Regions from separate parts of the Homo sapiens genome. Here region 2 is linked to region 1. The links are contacts of gene promoters, found by promoter capture Hi-C in blood cells and fetal thymus (Javierre and others, 2016). All regions are on one chromosome and are shown on one strand. The core of a region is centred on a gene start or on the middle of the fragment in contact, and the rest is flanking DNA. Distances in the headings are between cores, read along the strand shown.

The links. Contacts are between HindIII fragments. The CHiCAGO score rates a contact against its expected background, and 5 or more counts as called.
Region 2: a contact is called between a fragment that was not itself captured here and the fragment with the promoter of YIPF4 in region 1, in 1 of 17 cell types (fetal thymus). The highest score is 5.3, in fetal thymus.

The regions. Positions count from the first base shown.
Region 1 is chr2:32,276,240-32,279,839 of GRCh38, reverse strand. YIPF4 (Yip1 domain family member 4) reads right to left here and starts at 1,936. Exons shown (of 6, transcript NM_032312.4): 1 at 1,606-1,936. The coding sequence starts at 1,684. RefSeq lists a silencer at 1,729-1,838 and an enhancer at 2,076-2,821. The HindIII fragment of the contact is 1,217 bases long and covers 1,308-2,524 here.
Region 2 is chr2:33,601,273-33,604,872 of GRCh38, reverse strand. All of the region lies in intron 1 of LOC105374455 (a long non-coding RNA gene), which reads right to left. It also overlaps the pseudogene ATP6V0E1P3. Among named protein-coding and RNA genes, the nearest start is that of FAM98A, 3.8 kb to the right of the region's middle. The HindIII fragment of the contact is 3,183 bases long and covers 327-3,509 here.

The sequences.
Region 1 (3,600 bases), core at 687-3,186:
ATTGTACATTTTAAATTATGACCAGTACTATTTTTAAAAAACAATGCCAAACAGCACAACAAGAAAAACAAAAGGGAAAACAAGCTATACTGATACACCATAAAATTTCTTAGGAAAATCTAGGTTCTTTCGGCCGGGCGCGGTGGCTCACGCCTGTAATCCCAGCACTTTGGGAGGCCGAGGCGGACGGATCACGAGGTCAGGAGATCGAGACCATCCTGGCTAACACTATGAAACCCCGTCTCTACTAAAAAAAAATACAAAAAAAAAAAAAATTAGCCGGGCGTGGTGGCGGGCGCCTGTAGTCCCAGCTACACGGGAGGCTGAGGCCAGAGAATGGCGTGAACCCGGGAGGCAGAGCTCGCAGTGAGCCGAGATGGCATCACTGCACTCCAGCCTGGGCGACAGAGCGAGACTCAGTCTCAAAAAAAAAAAAAAAAAAAAAGGAAAATCTAGGTTCTTTCTCAGACTGAAATTTCTGTAAACATAATTTATGATTTCATAGCAGCCAGTAAGTCTGGTCACTGGAAAATAACTGGTGCACGAAGTGTAATAAAAATTTGAAAATGGCCGGGGCGCGGTGGCTCACGCCGGTAATCCCAGCACTTTGGGAGGCCGAGGCGGGCGGATCACGAGGTCAGGAGATCGAGAGACCATCATGGCTAACACGGTGAAACCTCATCTCTACTAAAAATACAAAAAAAATTAGTCGGGGGTGGTGGCGGGTGCCTGTAGCCCCAGCTACTCGGGAGGCTGAGGCAGGAGAATGGCGTGAACCCGGGAGGCGGAGCTTGCAGTGAGCCGAGATCGCGCCACTGCACTCCAGCCTGGGCGACAGAGCTCAAGAAAAAAAAAAAAATTGAAAATGACTAGCAGAATAATATCCAGGTTATGAGTTGGATAGGGAACTGAGAATAGGAGGGAAACATTCTCCTGTGCTGTAGGAAAATATCTCCAGCACAATCGCTTCCTCAGAATAATACAAGGAAATCTGTAGAGGCTACTGGAAACACATTGTTGGTTTACACTAAACTTCCAATATACCTGCGTCAATTTCTCTGAATACTGAGGTGAAACATTACAAAATGCGAGGAAAACGGGGACTCGGGCAAGACATCAAATTCAATAAAAACCATTTAGTTTGTATTTGCAGTGCCGAATCTGATCCCAGACCCCCCCCAAAAAATTATCTGTTGATACATAACAGAAGAAAACAGCCCTCCTTCCTTTTTCTCATTCTTTGAGATCTCCCTTGGCCAATCTGTCCTTTTTCTGAGTAAGGGCGAGTAATTCCAGAACTAAAAGCTTAGGATTTTGTGGGTCCAATTGAAGAGACTAAGCCACCCAGAAAAACCAGCCACCAGACGGTATGGGGAAAACCAAGGGCTGACCGAGTAACTTGATGCTTTAAAAAGCAGCTCCCTACACCCCTCCCTCCGTCCTTCGGGGCCTCTCGGAAGGCCCGGCAGGCGTGGTGGGCTGCAGTCACCAGTCAGCTTCCTGCCTGTCCCCACCCGGCCACGACCACCTCGGCACCAGAAAGACCCTACGGCGTCGGGCCCTGGCTTCCTCCGGGTGATAGCCCTTCCAGGGGCTCAGCCTCACCTTCCGCGTCTGCTGAGGAGACAAAGGTGAAGTCCCCGTTAGTGGGGGCATAGGCCGGGGGCGGGCCCGGAGGCTGCATCTCGCGGCGACTCCCAACCGGCCGCGGTAGAAGAGGCTGCGGCTGGGCCCAGACCCCGAGGCGGCCGCGGCGGCGACCCGCACGCTCGCCCTACGGTGCGGCCTACGAGTCTCGACGTGCAAGCTGCGAGCGAGGCCAGAAACGGGCACAGCGGGCCGCTGAGCTGCCCCGAGACTACCCCACCAAAGTCTTCTTGGTGGCGACCACCCAAGCACCACGACGCCGGCACCCTGACAGGACCATAACAGTGACAGCGGCGCTGGGATTGGCTCTTTGTAATGTGCTCTCCCATTGGCTCCCGGAGGAAGATTCTGATTGGGTCTTCCTGTTGTTGATTCCGGAAGTTTACCCAGGACAGGAAGTTCACTTGTAATTCGTGGAAATCTCAGGCCTCTTTTTCCTCCTTGGGTGCTTTTGTTCCTTTAAGTGCGATCTTTCCTGGCGTTTTGTTTACCTATTACCTCCGTTTTTGTTAAGTGGGTGGGTTAAAGAATTTTAGAACTAGGTAGATTTTATGGGTCAGCCGCCGTACAGGATCTCAAGATTCCCTTGCCATTAGCCATTAATTAATAGTGTAGGATCTTGACTAAGTTATATGTAATGTCTGGATGGCAGTTTCCTCACCTGTAAGATGAAGAGGGATGGATCGGAGAATGAAGATAAAAGGCAGAGAAGCCGTAAATCGCCACCCAGAGACTAGGGCTGTAGATACATTCCTTTATGAGGGAGAAAACTGAGGCCAGAGAAAGTAAGGTAGAAACAGATTTAGGACAGTACCTAAATCTCCTAATTTCTAGTCAAGTGCTCTTTTCACTGGAAGGCCCTGTCTACTGATAAGCTTGCCGAAGTTAACAAACTCACCTGCTTTTAAATGTTTACATACGTAACTTTAATATTCAAGCTACATAAATGTGGCTTCCAACTTGAAGAAAGAGGGGTTGGGGTATATTAGGAGGCCAACTTGGAGAAATACACAATTGATCAGCAATAGAGCAATCGAGAGACATGTCTATTAGTGTGTTAAATGGTATTTCTGGAAAATTTTCTCACAGGAGGTAACATGTTGGTACTTAAAGGATGAGTAAATGTAGTGGTTTTGTTTGTTTTAGAGACAAGGTCGCTCCGTTACCCAGGCTGGAGTGCAGTGGTGCAGTAATAGCTCCTTGTAACCTCACACTCCTGGGCTCAGGCAGTCCTCCCAACTCAGCTATCTAAGTAGCTGGGACTACAAGCCCCCTGCCACCATGTTTGGCTAATATTTATTTATTTATTTATTTATTTTTGAGACGGAGTCTCATTCTGTCGACAGGATGGAGTGCAGTGGCGCGATCTCGGCTCACTGCAACCTCCGCCTCCAGGGTTCAAGCGATTCTCCTGCCTCAGCCTCCCGAGTAGCTGGGACTACAGGTGCCTGCCACCACGCCTGGGTAATTTTTTGTATTTTTAGCAGAGACGGGGTTTCACCATGTTAGTCAGGATGGTCTCGATCTCCTGACCTTGTGGTCTGCCTGCCTTGGCCTCCCAAAATGCTGAGATTACCGGCGTGAGCCACTGCACCCAGCCCGAATATAACCATTTTTTAAAACATGCCAATTTGATGGGTGATTGTGGGGAAAAGAAAGAGAGATCAGATTGTTACTGTGTCTGTGTAGGAAGAAGTAGACATAGGAGACTCCATTTTGTTCTGTACTAAGACAAATTCTTCTGCCTTGAGATGCTGTTAATCTATAACCTTAGCCCCAAACCCGAACTCTCTGAAACATGTGCTGTGTCAACTCACGGTTAAATGGATTAAGGGCTGTGCTAGATGTGCTTTGTTAAACAGATGCTGGAAGGCGGCATGCTCCTTAAGAGTCATCACCACTCCCTAATCTCAAGTACCCAGGGACACAAACACTGCGGAAGGCCGCAGGTAC
Region 2 (3,600 bases), core at 669-3,168, 1.3 Mb before region 1:
TGAAGGGGCAACCTGCTCAACCCAAGCCAATCATTGCCTTTATGGGCAATGAGGTTCCTCCAATGCTGCCAAATCAGCAGACGTTTTCGCCCCAGAAAAGCCAGACACTCAGATTTTTAAAATAAAATCTCCAAACTTTTAAATGTAAGCTCAGTTCTTTAACTTATTAAACAGGCCAAACAAAATACAACGCTTGGTCTGGTGTGAAGGCTAGTTTATTACCTCTAGGCTACAGTCTAATAAGCTCTTACTGCATCCAAATTAGATGGGTTTCTATCTGGTTCACTGTGTGCCTGATTGCAGAACATGGCAACTAGGCTGAAGCTTTGTTGGGAGAACAACAGAAATCAAATTTGGAGCTTTTATTCTGGAAAGATCTGGATATATCTCTGTGTGTGTTTTTGTATATATATACACATTTGTGTGTGTGAATGTGTGTGTGTGAATATATATATATATATATATATACACACGTACATTCACACACATAGCACTTCCTTTGTTTAGTTTAAACACAGGCAAGATGTTGTTCTCAAACTTTGTAATATTCTCTAAAAATTGCCAGGGCTCAGAAACTATACTAACATAGCCAGAGGAATGATTTGAAAAAACAGCATTCTTTAGTAATATAAAGTATTTGAGACCATACAAGATTTAATTCTACATGCTAACTTAAAAAAAAAAAGAGTTGTGCTTTCACTGTGCAAGCTGAAAAGGACTTTATTTAGCAACATATACAAACTTGCATTTCTGAGCAACACCAGTAAATCTATGGTCTTTCTATTTTCTCCTTGCTGGAGGGTCATTCTAAAGATAAATTCACTAAAAATGGAAAATGCTGCTATTTTTCAGACAGTGTTCTTTTATTTTTGATAGAAAAGTTATTTGTTTTAGATGCCTATTTAATCACCTCTTAGAAACCAATCCATGACAAATCTTATATTTGAGCTTATACCTACCTCTTTTCCATGATAAAAAATTACTTCTATAGATGCTAGAAGTAACTTTCTTAAAGATGTCAGCTGCATAAATTTTTAATTACTATATAATTAAAAACCTTCTAATAATTTTTAAGGTTATGACTTATAAAACATGTTCCTCTGGAAACTGAAATCAGTTTTCAATTTTCCCATTTACATTTCTTTCACAAGTGAAAAAAATAATTTGTCTTTATTCTCTTCAAGAAGAGCTAGAAAAGGCTGATCTTTAAGATCATTCATTGTTTCTACTCTCCAGGAAAGGCAGTGTGGTATGGACCCCCCTCCCCCGAAAACTATCTGCATCATAATCGTTGGAACATGAGACTATGGAAAAAGGGACTTTGCAGGTGTGGTTAAATTGAAGATCTTAAGGTTGGGAGATTATTCTGGATTATCTGGCACAAGGATGGGGGTCCTTATAAGTAAAAGAGGGAGGCAGGAAGGTAAGAGGGCATGACTACCATGTAGCAGGGGTCGGAGTGGTGTTGCTGGTCTTGATGAAGGAGGGGAGTCATAAGCCAAGGAAGGTGGGTGGCCTCTAGAAACCAAAACAGGGAAGAAAACAGATTCTCTCCTAGAGATTCCAGAAGAAATGCAAACCTGCCCATTTTTGCCAGGTGAGATCCATTTCAGGTGTCTGACCTCCAGAGCTGTAAGATAATAAATCTGTCTTGTTTTAAGCCTCTAAATTTGTGGTAATCTGTAGCAGCAGCAGTTAAGAATATGGACAGTAACCAGACTCCCTCAAAGATGGGACACTAGAATAGCTTTATTTTATATTTTATTTTATCTATAGAAAACAGAAAAATGATTTATTCCAAAAGATGGCAGAAATGAGAAATTCATGCTGAAAATATACCTTGGGCCGGATGTGGTGGCTCATGACGGGGTGCAGTGGCCAAGGTGGGCGGATTGCTTGAGCCCAAGATTTTGAGACCAGCCTGGGCAACATGGCAAAACCGTCTCTACCAAAAAATAAAAAAACTTAGCCAGGCATGGTGGCCAGCGGCTGCAGTCCCAGCTACTTGGGAGGCTGAGGCAGGAGGATCACTTGAGCCCAGGAGGTTGAGGCTACGAGATCACCACTGCACTTCAGCGGGAGCGACAGAGCAAAACTCTGTTTAAAAAGGAAGAAAGAAAAAAAAAAGAACACATAATTTGGTGTAATTCTGTTGGGAGAGCTCTTTCCTCTGAACGTCCTCTCCTACTGACTGCCCCACTGGAGTCTTGTCAGGCAGTAGTACGTTCTAAATAGTTCACTGATTCCCATGTTATGAGAAGGCAGGAGCCACTACAAATCCACAAATTCCAAGGACATAATAACACATTTCTCAGAAGAAAAGCATCTTCTCTCTCAAAAGAGTGCATTATCATTTTGAGGAGTTGGCACAGTTTAGGTTAAGTAGGCACATAATTCATTAAAGCATAAAAAAGTTGAAGAAAAAAATGCTGCATTGTGTTAGACATTCAAATGTGGTGTGAATGTTTAAGGCAGCTGATGCCCAAAATAAGCAAGTCAAGAAAAGTGGTGTGGTTTGGATTTTGCATCTAGAAGGAATTCTTTTCTCATGACTGCTAAGACTGAGCACTGTAAAGCCTGTCTTCCTCAAGGCCAATGACACTTCGGATACCAGATGATTTCATGTTTCAACTGCAGTCTGAAGAGAGGGTTGAGTTGGCCAGGATTGCAATCAGCCAAAAGAGACAGCAACAAACTGAACAGGTCACCTACATGGTAATGATAACTCCCTACTTAGGACCCTTAGGGATGAACCAAGGCATGAAGAAACCAGTGAAGCCCTAAAACACGCTCATTGCAATGAGACGTATGGTGAGGCCCTGATATGCCATGCTTACCGCTGGTCTGCCAGCCCCTGCCCCTCTGCCTCACTTGGGTCCCACCTGGAAGTCATTTTTAATTAATTTTTTTTTTTTTAACAGAGACAGAGTCTTGCTATGTTGCTCAAGCTGGCCTTGAACCCCTGGCTTCAAGTAATCGTCCTGCCTCAGCCTCCCAAAGTGCTGGGATTGCAGGTCTGAACTACCGCGCCAGACCCTAGAAGGGTTTTAAGTTGGTATTTTATATTCTTTTTTGAGAAAGAATCTAGAATCAAAGTCATCAGTAAAAGGGCATGTGCTGGCACTTGTGGGTGTGCCTTCTCACAAGAGTACCCTTAAGTAATTATTCAGCCTCTAGGTGAACACCTTCTAGACAGGAAGCTCATCATCTCTCAACGATACCTAAGTCACTTTAAGACTACTCTTAGAGTGTTAGAAAAATTCTTTCTTATACTGATCTGATGCAAAAACCAGAGCTTCCTCACTTCCAAATCATTGTTCCTTTCATTCTAGTAAACTCAGTTTCAAAGAGGTCTTCAGATATCAGGTTCCATTATAAACATAAATAATTTCTAAATAAAATGCAAAAGATTCCTCGTAGATCCCATTAAAATGATGACAATTTTTTTTCTTTCTTTCTGAGCCTGCCTGGTAGGGAACACAATTTTGTTTAAGTAGTATTTAAAAGCTTTTTTTAATTGCAGAGAAAGCCATTGTAGAATTCCTTTAAACCATAATATATAAAAATTTCATATCAGCAATCCTTCATTTAAGCTAACGA